2 separate regions of the Homo sapiens genome follow, and region 2 is linked to region 1. The links are contacts of gene promoters, found by promoter capture Hi-C in blood cells and fetal thymus (Javierre and others, 2016). All regions are on one chromosome and are shown on one strand. Each heading gives the region's core, a stretch centred on a gene start or on the middle of the fragment in contact. The rest is flanking DNA. Distances are from core to core; before and after follow the strand shown.

Region 1 (5,991 bases), core at 803-3,302:
ACACACACACACACCAGCTCTCACTGAAATTAAGCTATAACTGAAGACATCACACACACACACACACATACCAGCTCTCACTGAAATTAAACTATAACTGAAGACATCACACACACACACACACACACACACCAGCTGTCACTAAAATTAAACTATAACTGAAGGCATCACACACACACACACACACATACCAGCTCTCACTGAAATTGAAGCCAAACTATAACTGAAGATATCACACACACACACACACACACCAGCTCTCACTGAAATTAAGCTATAACTGAAGACATCACACACACACACACACACACACACACACACACCAGCTCTCACTGAAATTAAACTATAACTGAAGACAAATCCTGCAGGGTCACACACCAACTGCTGTTTGGGAAGTTCTTCAATGATTCCAACCTGGATTCCTCTTACTTTACTTGGATGCCAGCCACAACATTCCTGGGATCCTTTTCCATTTAAATAAGTTAGGGCTTGGAGATGGGGAGTGGGAGGAGCATGGGGAAGCCAAGGCCCAGAGAAGGTAAGCAACCGTCCTAAGATAACACAGCACTCTTGAGATGACAGCTCAGGTATGCAGTCTGCCGGCCCAAGCCCCATGGAACTGTGGGAAGGAACGCAAGTGATTCTCCTATTGGACAGGGGCAAGTGCATGGAAAAGGATGATGGTGAGGCTGAAAGCAGGAAAAGATTTGACCCATCTCCCAGGTATGAGCAGCCATCTCGGGGCACAGGATCCTAGAATCCTCAGCAAAGGCAGAAAAATGGCTAAGATGACCCTCACCAACCCATATGTGCCTTATCAGCCCAAGAGTGAGTCAGCAGGTGCGGCCAGCACCTTCCGTGTCTGGAAAAGAGACAGGATTGGGAGAAAATGTGGGAGGTTGCCCTTTCCCTGGGCCAAATTAGAATTCTAACCAAGGAGCTTCTTCAGTCTTGCTGGAGAGTAAAGTTCCCAGAGGGGCAGGGAAGAGTCCCAGATTCTACAGAGCTTCCCCTGGAAATGTCAGTGCATCCATCAGCTTTGCTCTTGAGCCTTGCTGAGTCTGAGGTGGACAAAGTGACCCACCCTCCTGGCCATCTTAGTGCCCACCTTGGATCGGGGGAAAAGGGGGTGGCACGCCGAGGCAGAAGTCCCAGAAGTCAGGGCAGCAGTCGGAGACCGTGCGGTTGCAGAAGAGGTCACAGTAACAGATGGCGCCCAGGTAGGGCAGGGCACAGTCGTCGGCACGGCCGCGGCAGCACAGGTCCTGCTCCTGGCAGTACCGGCCTCCCGCGTCCCGGATGCCCCGCAGGTGCAGACCCGGTGCTAGCTCCCGGCGCCCACGACCCTGCTGGGCACCCAGAGCCAAGTGGCCAGCCAGCGGCAGCAACAGCAGTAGCCCCAGTGGACATCGCCACATGGTGGCTCCTGGGCCCTGGGGGGCAGAGATGGTGGGCAGCAGAGACTCCCTGGAACACCAGGGATGAGTCTCCCAGTTTCCTGGAGCTGTGAGTTCAAGAGGGCCCAGCAGGGAGGGAGATCCCGATTCCTGAGTCCCCAGGCAGGACACGGGCAGAGGAGCCCCAGTGTGTGGGCCCTGGCTATAGGGGGATGGGGACTGGGCAGAAACGGAGCCCCTCCCTGACCTAGGCAGGGACCTTCAAGGACAAGGAAATGAGGGTGGTGGCATTCTTGGTGCTCCCACCCAACACTCATCCTGTGGACCCAAGGTCTTCTCTCCTGTCCTAGGTCTCTCTGCCCTCCAGCAGCCTCCATCCCTGACCTGGGTCCTTGACTTTGTGCTTTCCTGTCTCCCCCGGTCTTTTGGGTACACCTCTCTTCTGTTCCTGTGTCCCTCTGTCCCCCTCCACTGTCCCTCTCTCTGCCATCTGTCTTGGTTCCTCTACCTGCCCCCTCCCCCTGTTTCTTCTCTGTCTACACCTTCCGCCCTCTGAGCAGGGGAGCGTCCCTACCTGGTGAAGGTGTGGGCTGGGGCCCAGGCTGGCCCGCGCGCCTCCGCCTCCTGGCTCTGCGACCGCCGGACGCTCAAAGTCAAGAGAGGAGCGCGGGGCGGGGCGCTTTTTGTACCGCCCGCCCTCTGCACCGCCCCAGCAGTGGCGGAAGGGAGGGGCGCCTGGCTTGTACCTGGAGTAACTACCCCACAACTCATGGGCTTGCAGGGTGGAGAAACGACAAGCACACGATTGTCCTGGCTGGGTCTCCTGTGGCGGAAGCCGTTCCCTTAGGGGAACCCCAAGCAGGAAGGATTGCGGTTTCACACTGGGAAGGACTTCACAGTGGGCATCCCTGTGGAGCTGAGGGGCTCTGGTGGAGAAGGGGGGATATGGGCAGCCGAGCTCTGGGTTATGGACACAAGTTTGGGAAATGATGGGGAGGGCATGTGAGGCAAAATTCTGTAAGCCTCTCCTGACCCCTCGGTAATAAAAATAGCCATGCACACCCCTCTCCACTGTGCCCCCTAGGCTTGGGTGCCGCCCCCCTAGCCACCCCAGCTCCTAGGAATGATTGGAATTCCAGGAGTATGATCCTTAGGTGCCCTGGGCGGCTCATCCCTGGGAGGTGGGCAGGGTGTGGGGGTGGCCTCTGCACCCTTTGATCCCTTGTTGAGTCTGCCTTCCCTTGCCTGCTTGGGCCCCTAGACGAGCACTGCCCTCTCTAGCAAACCCAAGGGCATCCTGCTTGGCACCTGTCCCCCTCCAAGGGTCCAAAGGCAAGGGCCCTACCAGCTGGCACCCCCTGCAGAGGCCCTCCTTCCTGCCGCAGGCATAAACCTTTCTTTGCCCAGGCTGGCCTGGGACCCAAACAATGGGGCTTCTGTCCCGCCAGGTCTGCCGTCACCTTTTACCTCCCTATTGTGCAACGCCCTCTCTTCAACAGGTTGGGCCCAGGCCAGAGGTCTCTACCAGCAAAGAGGATAAAAGAGACTACACCTGGACAAACCCTCCCAGGCCCAGGCCTGAGCCTCACATGTGGCCCCGGGGAAGGCATCAGGGACTCCCTTTGCCCTCCCACTGACCTCCCTGCAAACCTCCCCCAAACCAAGGGGCATCCTCAGCTGGCCAGACCCTGGGGGAAGGGAGAGAGCCGAGGATCACCGGCACCTGTGGCTGGGTTACCCCTGCCATGGACCACTGGGTGGTGAGTCACCAAGGGGGTCCTGCCCTGGTGGTGGGGGTGGAGGGATAATATCCGGGGGCCCCAGCACTGGCACTAACACACCCAGGAGCTGCCCATCTGCTCCCTGCAGGGACCTGGGAGGACAAAGCCTAGGTGGGAAACTGAGGCTCAGAAGAATGCACTTGCCTGAGGTCGTGCAGCCAGAACACAGGCTCCCTGCCTGCCACCAGCCCACTCCTTTACCCCTAGTCACCCTTAGTCACCCACTACAGGTCTCAACGTGCTCCTGGTTGGGAAGTCTCTTTTCTTATCTAAACTCCATTCATCTTACTGCAGGACGGGCCCCTCGGTATTGGTAAATGTCATATCCTCAGGGTAAGAGATGAAAGCTGCTTTCTTTCAAAAGAGTTCGTGTCCAGAGTTCCTACTTTTATGGTACCTACTTTTTCATGGTTCTGGGGCTGGGGGCTTGTTTAGAGACATCTGGCCTCTCTTTTGCCCAAAATCACACCGCATAGGCTACCCTCGTGAGTCTGGGTGTGTTATCTCTGTGTGCATGTATGCATGTGTATATCTGAGTTGCGGTGTTTGTGGGGGTGTTTCTGCTTCTGCTTGAGTCTGTCAGTCCACATCTGATCGTCTGGGTTTTTTTTGCTTTTTGTTTTTTGTTTTTTTTTGAGACAAGGTCTCACTTTGTCACCCAGGCTGGAGTACAGTGGCGCGATCTCGACTCACTGAAGCCTTGACCTCCTGGGCTCAAGTAATCCTCCCACCTCAGCTTCCTGAGTAACTGGGACTACAGGTGCACACCGCCATGCCTGCCTGAATTTTTTTTGTATTTGTAGTAGAGATGGGGTTTCACCATGTTGCCCAGGCTGGTCTCCAACTCCTGAGCTCAAGCAATCCGCCTGCCTTGGCCTTCCGAAGTGTGTTTACCTGTCTATCTGCTATGTGCCTGTGTATCTGTGAGTCTGGATATTTTGGCTATCTGCCTGTCCTTGTCTGACTGATTGTCTGCTTGTCTATCCATTTACCTGTCCATCTGCTACATACCTGTGCATCTGTGTGTGTGTATCTGTCTGGATGTTGTCTCTGTGTCCATTATGGATCTGTCTGTCTGCCAGCGTGTGTTGTTTGCCTGCATTTGTGCACTTGTTGGCTTGTATGTCTGTGTGTGTGTCCTGCCTGTGCCTCCCTGTCTAAGAGGTGTCTGTGTATCTGTGTGGGAGTTGTGGCCATCTGCCTGTCCTTGTCTGCCTGCCTGTCTGTGCATAAGAGGCAGGGACTCAGAGCAGGGGATGGGAGCAGAGCCAGAGCCTCCCACCATCACTCAGCTTGGCACAGAGCCCGCCCCAGTGGAATTTTGTGACTCACTGGGTTCCTTGGCCGAGGAGGAAAAGGGCAGGGCCGGGGGTGCTGGACACCCCCACTTTCCTTTTCCATGACCCTTTGACCCTTTGCCTCCTAGTGACTCCTAGTGACTCATTGACTTATTATTATTTTTTTTGATGGAGTCTCGCTCTGTCGCCCAGGCTGGAGTGCAGTGGCGTGATCTCAGCTCACTGCAAGCTCTGCCTCCTGGGTTCAAGCCATTCTCCTGCCTCAGCCTCCTGAGTAGCTGGGACTACAGGCACCCACAACCAGGCCCAGCTAATTTTTTGTATTTTTTTTTTAGTAGAGATGAGGTTTCACCATGTTAGCCAGGATGGTCTCGATCTCCTGACCTTGTGATCCGCCCGCCTCAGCCTCCCAAAGTGCTGGGATTACAGGCATGAGCCACCATGCCTGGCCGACTCAATGACTTATTCTTGAGCAAAGTGGGGCCTTATCCAAGGGCCTGGGACAGAGCAGCAGAGGAGGAGACACCAGCGAGACTTCCCCCTCTGAGCCCTTCCGGCTTTTCAAGAGGCAGGTAGCCTAGGTCCCTGTGGTGGTTTTGTCCTCCCTTACTCCGGACCCCCGGCAGCGCAGCCCCTCTCTGGGCGTTGGTACCAACCTGTACCCAGATGCTCCCTGGAGGCCCTCTGGTATTCTCTTACTTTTACAGAGGGAGGTGAAGCCAGAAAGGGACAGTGACAAGCCTAAGAACACACGGCAGAGCAGAGGGCTCTCCTCTCTATGGAGTCCCAGAGCTCCCCACACCCCACAAACTTCACAACTGCTCTAAATGCTCGGAATCAGCCATTCTCCTCTGTGAGCTGAGCAGGGCTTTCTGGGAAGACAAAGACCTGTTGTCTGCTCACCTCAGGTCCCTAGCCGAGGACCTGATACTTGAGGCCTGGGAGTTCAGATGCTCAGGGCCCAAACAGCACCCCATCCAAGGCTGGGGCTCCTTGTGGTTCCCTGTGGTCAGTGGGACATGTCCAGAGCTCAGGTCAGTGCTCCCTGGGACTGCATCTGAGACCCTGTCCAGGCCTAATACTGTAGCCGGTTGGGCCATGTTGTGATATGTTGGGGCTTCCCAGGGCTCATGGACTGTTTTGTAGAAAGTCCCACATCAAGGGCTGCATGACAGTCAGAGTGTGGTGCTGTCATAGCACGCTGGAGCTTGCAGCAGACAAAATTCCAGGCCATGTGGAAGTGTGTTGCGCCACGCAATGGCATGCTTTACTATTTGATTTTCTCATTCATTCAACAAATACTTGTTAAGCATTTACGATGTGCCAGGTTCTGTGCTAGGTGCTGAGTGTACATTGTTGAACCAAACAGATGGAGTTCCTGCTATTGTGGAGTTTGCAGTCTAATGGGAAGAGAGGCCAGGCATGGCGGCTCATGCCTGTAATCCCAGCAGTTTGGGAGCCTAAGGCAGGTGGATTGCTTCAGCTCAGGGGTTTGAGATCAGCCTGGGCAACATG
Region 2 (6,287 bases), core at 370-2,869, 160 kb after region 1:
CTGGCAGGGGCCCCTTGCTCCTCAGAGACCTCTGCTTTTCTTTCTGGACTGGTCACAAGGCACACAGCACACCCTGCTGGCGGGCATCTGCCTCCCCTCTTACTCTCCCCCAAACTAGAAATGCTCCTCGCCTATCTCTCGTTCACACAGATGCTAAACAAAATGCTTTGGAAACGAAACTATTCCTCATGGTCTAAATTGAAACAGTCCACCTGTCCAGCAACTTCTGGTTACATCTTGCAGCTGCCACCCCAAGACCTGCCTCCTATCCATGGCTGTCCTTGGTGGGTGAGAGGATAAGAAAAGCCTGAAAAATGTTTTAGAGGCCATAAAGCAGTGGTCCCAAACCTTTCTGGTACCAGGAGCCAATTTCAGGGAAGACACTTTTTCCACAGATGGCAGCAGGGGTGCTGGCAGGGGGCAGATATGGTTTTGGGATGAAACTGTTCCACCTCTGATCATCAGGAATTAGATTCTCATAAGAAGCACGCAACTTGGATCCCTCGCATGCACAGTTCACAATAGGGTTCGCACTCCTATGAGAATCTAATGCTGCCACTGATCTGACAGGAGGCGGAGCTCAGGCGGTAATGCTTGTTCACCTGCTGTTCACGTCCTGCTGTGTGGCCCAGTTCTTAACAGGCCATGGATAGATACTAGTCCATGGCCCAGGGGTTGGGGACCCCTGCTATAAAGAACATTCTGGGTATCAGTTAGAGCAGCTTATTAGTCCCATTTTACAGACGTGGAAATTGAGACCAGAGGGACTAAGAGACTTACCAGAGGTCACACAGCAAGTTGATAACAGCACTGAGATTCAAGTAGTATTAGTGGCAGCTACCATTTACGAAGGGTTACTCAGTCCCAGGCACTGTGATAAGCACTTTATCTACATTAAGCTTCACTGATGCTATGAATTGTGTGGTAACTTTCCATTTTCAAATGGGAAAACTGAGACAGAGAAGTGGCATGACCAAGGTCACACAGCAAGTAAGCTGAGGAGCTGGGATGCAAATTCAGATCTGTGTGCACCAAGGGCCAGGCTCTGCCTACAGGACTACACTAGTTCCAGCTCGCTAATTCACTGATGGTCATCTTATTTAATTTAAATACATCCCAGTGATGAAAAAACAAACAAACAAACAACAAAAAACCCAATACCAGAAAACCAAGGGAGGCCAGTGGGTACTGATCTCAGGAGCCAGGTGCCCAGGTGCCCTGTCAGGTCCTGATGCTGGCTTGTTACCATTTAATTTCAATTTGAGACATCTGAGACACAAGAAAGCTGTTCCGCTTTCAGAGAGCTTGGCCTTTCAGTTCGCTCTGGTTCTTAAACATCAAAATCCAGGTGTTCCTAATGCCTGAAATCTCAGGATTTCCAAGGGCCTGATCAGCAGCCAGAGAGACCAGGTCAAAGAGAAAAACACACACTGCTTCCAGAGCATCCTTGGAAATGTTTGTCCACCTTGCTCCATTCACCCCACCCCAGAATGGCTCCTACAAGAACCTCTTCCATTTGACCAAAATGTCATTTTATATATATTTAAATCTCTTCCTACAGAAATGCCAGACCATTGGAGTAAGGGCAGATGTGTGCACATATATACAAACACATGGAAATTCATTGTGGCACTGATCATAATAGGAAAATAATAGGGGGAAAAATTTTTGAGACAGGATCTCGTTCTGTCACCCAAGCTAGAGTGCAGTGGTACCATCTCGGCTCACTGCAACCTCCACCTCCGGGGCTCAAGCAATCCTCCTACCTCAGCCTCCGGAGTAGCTGGGACCACAGGCACCAGCCACAATGCCCAGCTAATTTTTCTTTTTGGTTTCTTGGTTTTTGTTTCAAGAAAGGATTTGGCTCTGTCACCCAGGCTGGAGTGCAGTGGTGTGATCTCAGCTCACTGAAGCCTCAACCTCCTGGGCTCAAGCGATCCTCCTACCTCAGCCTCCCAAGTAGCTGGGACCACAGGCATGCACCACCACACCCAGCTAATTTTTGTATTTTTTGGTAGATACAGGGTTTTCTCATGTTGGCCAGGCTGGTCTTGAACTCCTGGGCTCAAGGGATCCTCCCACCTTGGCCTCCCAAAGTGCTGGGATTATAGGCATGAGCCACCATGCCTGGCCATTAGGGGAAAATTGAAAATAACAAAACGCCCATCAATACATCATGGTATTCCATAAAACGGATTTCTCTGCTGAATGGGGCAAATATGTAGGTAACACTTAACTTGGGTACATTTCATTGTATACAAATAATACTTCAATTAAGTTAAATTTACAAATATAAAAATAAAGATTTTTATATAAAGAAAAAACTTAAATAAGCTTTAGGTTTTGTGAGCCTATTGGAGTCTCAAGAAACTACAAAAAACCTAAATGTCTAACACCTGGGGACAGCCGTGGCCCTTTCACTCCATGGAATGCTACAGAGCCAGAAAGATGAATTCCCTGGCTACAGAGCCACATGGAATAATGCTCATGATGCAGTGTGAAAGGAAGGCAGACTGGAAAGCTGTTCCCACACTACGATTACAACCACTCCCCTCTTCCTGCAGATGCACTCAAGGGCAGCAACAGAAAAGCCCCAGAACACTTACAGTGGCTGAATCTTAGTACCAGCCCAGGTTCTCAGAATGGAGAACTCAGAATTTAAGAAGCCCCAGGCCTCAGAGCCTTACAGCTGCAAGGTTCCTTGGCATTCAACCAATCCATTCTCTTTCCAATGAAGAACCACCCAGAAAGCATCTGGCCATCCTCTGCTGCTTGCACACTGCCAATGACAAGGAGCTCACTACCTCCCAAGGCAAGGCAGACAGCTCTGGAGCCATGAGTCGTTTGGCATTATGTGAACAGGCTGTCACTGAGTCATTCACATTGTCTCCTGGTTGTCCTCAGAGCCAGGGACAGAAGTTCTTAGAACCACTCATAGGGTGTTGGGTGGGTAAGGGAGGCAGCTGAGGGCTGGATGAATTTTTCTATTTAAAACAAACTGGCTGTCTGGGCGTGGTGGTTCATGCCTGTAATCCCAGCACTTTGAGAAGCCAACACAGGCAGATTACCTGAGATCAGGAGTTTGAGACCATCCTGCCAACATGGTGAAACCCCGTCTCTACAAAAAATACAAAAATTAGCCAGGCATGGTGGCAGGCATTTGTAATTCCAGCTACTCAGGAGGTTGAGGCAGCAGACTCGCTTGAACCCGGGAGGCAGAAGTTGCAGTGAGCTGAATCGCGCCAATACACTCCAGCCTGGGTGACAGAGCATGAGTTCGTCTCAAAATTTAATAAAATAAAATAAAATAAAGTGGCCCTCCACTTCTGGATATATATCCAAAAGAAATGAAGCAGGGACTCACATATTTACACACCCATGTTCATAGCAGAATTATTCACAGTAGTCATAAGGTGAAAACAAGCTAAATGTCCATTGGTGGACGAGATGAATGGATAAACAAAATGTGGTATATCCATATCCATACAATAGAATATTATTTGTTCTTAAAAAGGAATGAGGCCAGGTGCGGAGGCTCATGCCTGTAACCCCTGCACTTTGGGAGGCCAAGGCGGGCGGATCACCTGAGGTCAGGGGTTCGAGACCAGCCTGGCCAACATGGTGAAACCCTATCTCTACTAAAAATACAAAAAAATTAGCTGGGCATGGTGGTGTGTGCCTATAGTCCCAGCTACGCGGGAGGCTGAGGCAAGAGAATTGCTTGAACCCGGGAGGTGGAAGTTGCAATGAGCCGAGATTGTGCCATTGCACTCCAGCCTGGGCAACAGAGCAGGACTCTGTCTCAAAAAAAAAAAAAAAAAAAAAAGAATGAAATTTTGACACATGCTATAACATGGATGAACCCTCAGGGCATTATGCTAAGTGAAATAAGCCAGACACCAAAGAACAAATATTGTATGACTCCACTTAGATGGAGAGAGTAGCCAAACTCATAGAGAAAAGCAGTGAATTGGTGGTTACGAGGGGCTGGGGAGTTACTGTTTAGTGGGAGTTTCAGTCTGGGAAGATGAAAAAGTTCTGGAGAAGGATGGTGGTGATGGTTGCATAACAGTGTCAATGTACTTAATGCTACACTTAAAAATTGTTAAAATGGTACATTTTATGTTATGCATCTTTTACCTCAATTTTTTTAAAAGGGAGGGGGCAGGGAGTTTTCAAAGAAGAGCAGGAAGAGGCGAGAAGGGTATTCCCAGCAAAGAGAATGACACATGCAGAGCTACAGGGACACTGTATTTTCAGGGCAGCTGAAAGGGTGAGAAAAGCTACAGAGGTCACGGAAGTGGTGGTCAATGTCCCTGTATGCCATGCCAGGGAGTCTGGACTTCACCCTGAAAGCAATGGGGAATGATTGCGAAAGAAGAGGAATGACAGCAGATTTGCATTTTAGAAATATCACTTTGATCACAAAAAGACAGGTCATGGGGTAGTGTGTGGTATCTTTGGGGGAAGGGAGGAGAGTCAGGGGCTGTTGTCAGTAATCCAGATGAGGGCTGACAGTAAGAAGATGTTCTGGAGTTACCGTGTGCCTTAGTTGGCACTACTCCTTCTGACAATGCCATTCGTTTGGGATTAATTTTTATTAGGGTTGTATTTATTAGATCTCCATTTTAATATACATGTCTTCTAAAATAAATTACAGGCTGGGTGTGGTGGCTCATGCCTGTAATCCCAGCACTTTGGGAGGCCGAGGCCAGTGGATAACTTGAGATCAGGAGTTCGAGACCAGCCTGGCCAACATGGTGAAACCCCGTCTCTATTAAAAACACAAAAATTAGCCAGGCATGGTGGCGCACGCCTGTAATCCCAGCTACTCGGGAGGCTGAGGCAGGAGAATCACTTGAACCTGGAGGCAGAGGTTGCAGTGAGCCAGAATGGTGCCACTGCACTCCAGTCTGGACAACAGAGCAAGACTTCATCTCAAAAAAATAAAGTAAAATAAAATAAAATGAAATAACATACAAACTCCTTGAAGACTAAAATAAAAGGTTAAAAGAGTAAATTTTTTAACATGTATTTCGTCACAGTTTAAAAAATGCAAAACTGGCCCAGGCAAGCATGCACCTTGCCGCCTTCATGAACAACTCCGTAACTGGCTGAGCCGCCCCAGGGCTAGTCAAAACACAGCAGAGAAGAGGTCAGCCGGAAATGTCCCAAGGTGCACTTACTTCCCCCATGCAGTGCCAAGAATGCAGGTCCTAATGCTGGCTCTGCCACAGCTTGTAATCTGACCTCAGGCAAGTCTCTCCTCCCCTCCATGGGACTCAGTTTCCTCATCTGTAAAATGATCTCCTGGGGTAGGAGAGTACAGGGGCTCCGAGCCCAGGCTCTATAGTTAGGCAGCCCTGGGTCTCACTGGCTTCAGCACTTCCTTGCATGTAGTCTTGAGTCATGTACTACTGTGGGGTGTTTATGGACCGGCCACTGCACACCAGCTTGGTGCTAAATATGCAGCTGTGCTAACCTCAGTCCCATTTAATCCTCACAACAGGCTAAGGGGCAGACACCATTGTTTTCTCCACTTTACAGACAAGGGGATGGGCAAAGTGACTGCCCACAGTCACAGAGATGCGAAGAGGCAAAGCTAGGATCCGAGTCCAGTGGTCTGACCCAAAGGCCTTTCACACTCCCTAGGATGTGCAAGACCCTCCTGAAATCTTTGCAGACAGCCAAGTCATCATGTGCCGGCGGCTTGCCTGGTGGCCCCATCCCCTGTGGACCCATCTTACCTCCCCATCCAAAGCAGGACCCACCTTCAGCCCAGTTCACCTTCAGCCCAGTTCCAATGCTGAGAAGCACAATCAGCAGATGAGTCACACCTGGGAGGATACAAAAATCTTCCCCACTGACCCATGCATGCAAAAAAATCCCTCCTGAAGTTGCCCAGAAACCCCACATAGAACTTCACTCCTGTGCAGCAACTCTTCACTGCAACAGGATGGTACTGGTGTCCAGTAGTGCCCAACTACACCACTTAATGTTGTGTGGCTGTGGAGAAGTCACCTTCACTCTCTGAGCCAGTTTCCTCATCTGTGAAATGGGAACAATATTAACTGCCCCAGTGGGGTCTTTGTGAGGATTAAATGGAAGGAGATATATATATACACACACATACACATACTGCTCACTACTGTATGGGGCCTAGGCCACTCCTGGACAGCTCCACGCTGCGAGTGTTGGGATAGTTATCTGTAAAATGGGCTAACGATGTCATAGGGTAGAGGAGGTGGGGAGAGCCAATGAGATGGCATGGTGAGGGGCTCGGAACA

Evidence for each region. Contacts are between HindIII fragments. The CHiCAGO score rates a contact against its expected background, and 5 or more counts as called.
Region 2: a fragment that was not itself captured here is called in contact with the fragment with the promoter of TINAGL1 in region 1 in 1 of 17 cell types (M1 macrophages); the score reaches 5.4 in M1 macrophages.

What each region holds. Positions count from the first base shown.
Region 1 is chr1:31,572,576-31,578,566 of GRCh38, reverse strand. It overlaps TINAGL1 (tubulointerstitial nephritis antigen like 1), which reads right to left and starts at 2,052. Exons shown (of 12, transcript NM_022164.3): 1 at 1,972-2,052; 2 at 1,109-1,433. The coding sequence starts at 1,418. It overlaps LOC105378626 (a long non-coding RNA gene), which reads left to right and starts at 670. Exons shown (of 6, transcript NR_188671.1): 1 at 670-723; 2 at 2,897-3,157. RefSeq lists an enhancer at 1,521-2,241. The HindIII fragment of the contact is 15,245 bases long and covers 1-5,991 here.
Region 2 is chr1:31,415,392-31,421,678 of GRCh38, reverse strand. The region is part of intron 1 of SERINC2 (serine incorporator 2); the gene reads right to left. Among named protein-coding and RNA genes, the nearest start is that of SERINC2, 5.3 kb to the right of the region's middle. The HindIII fragment of the contact is 1,435 bases long and covers 902-2,336 here.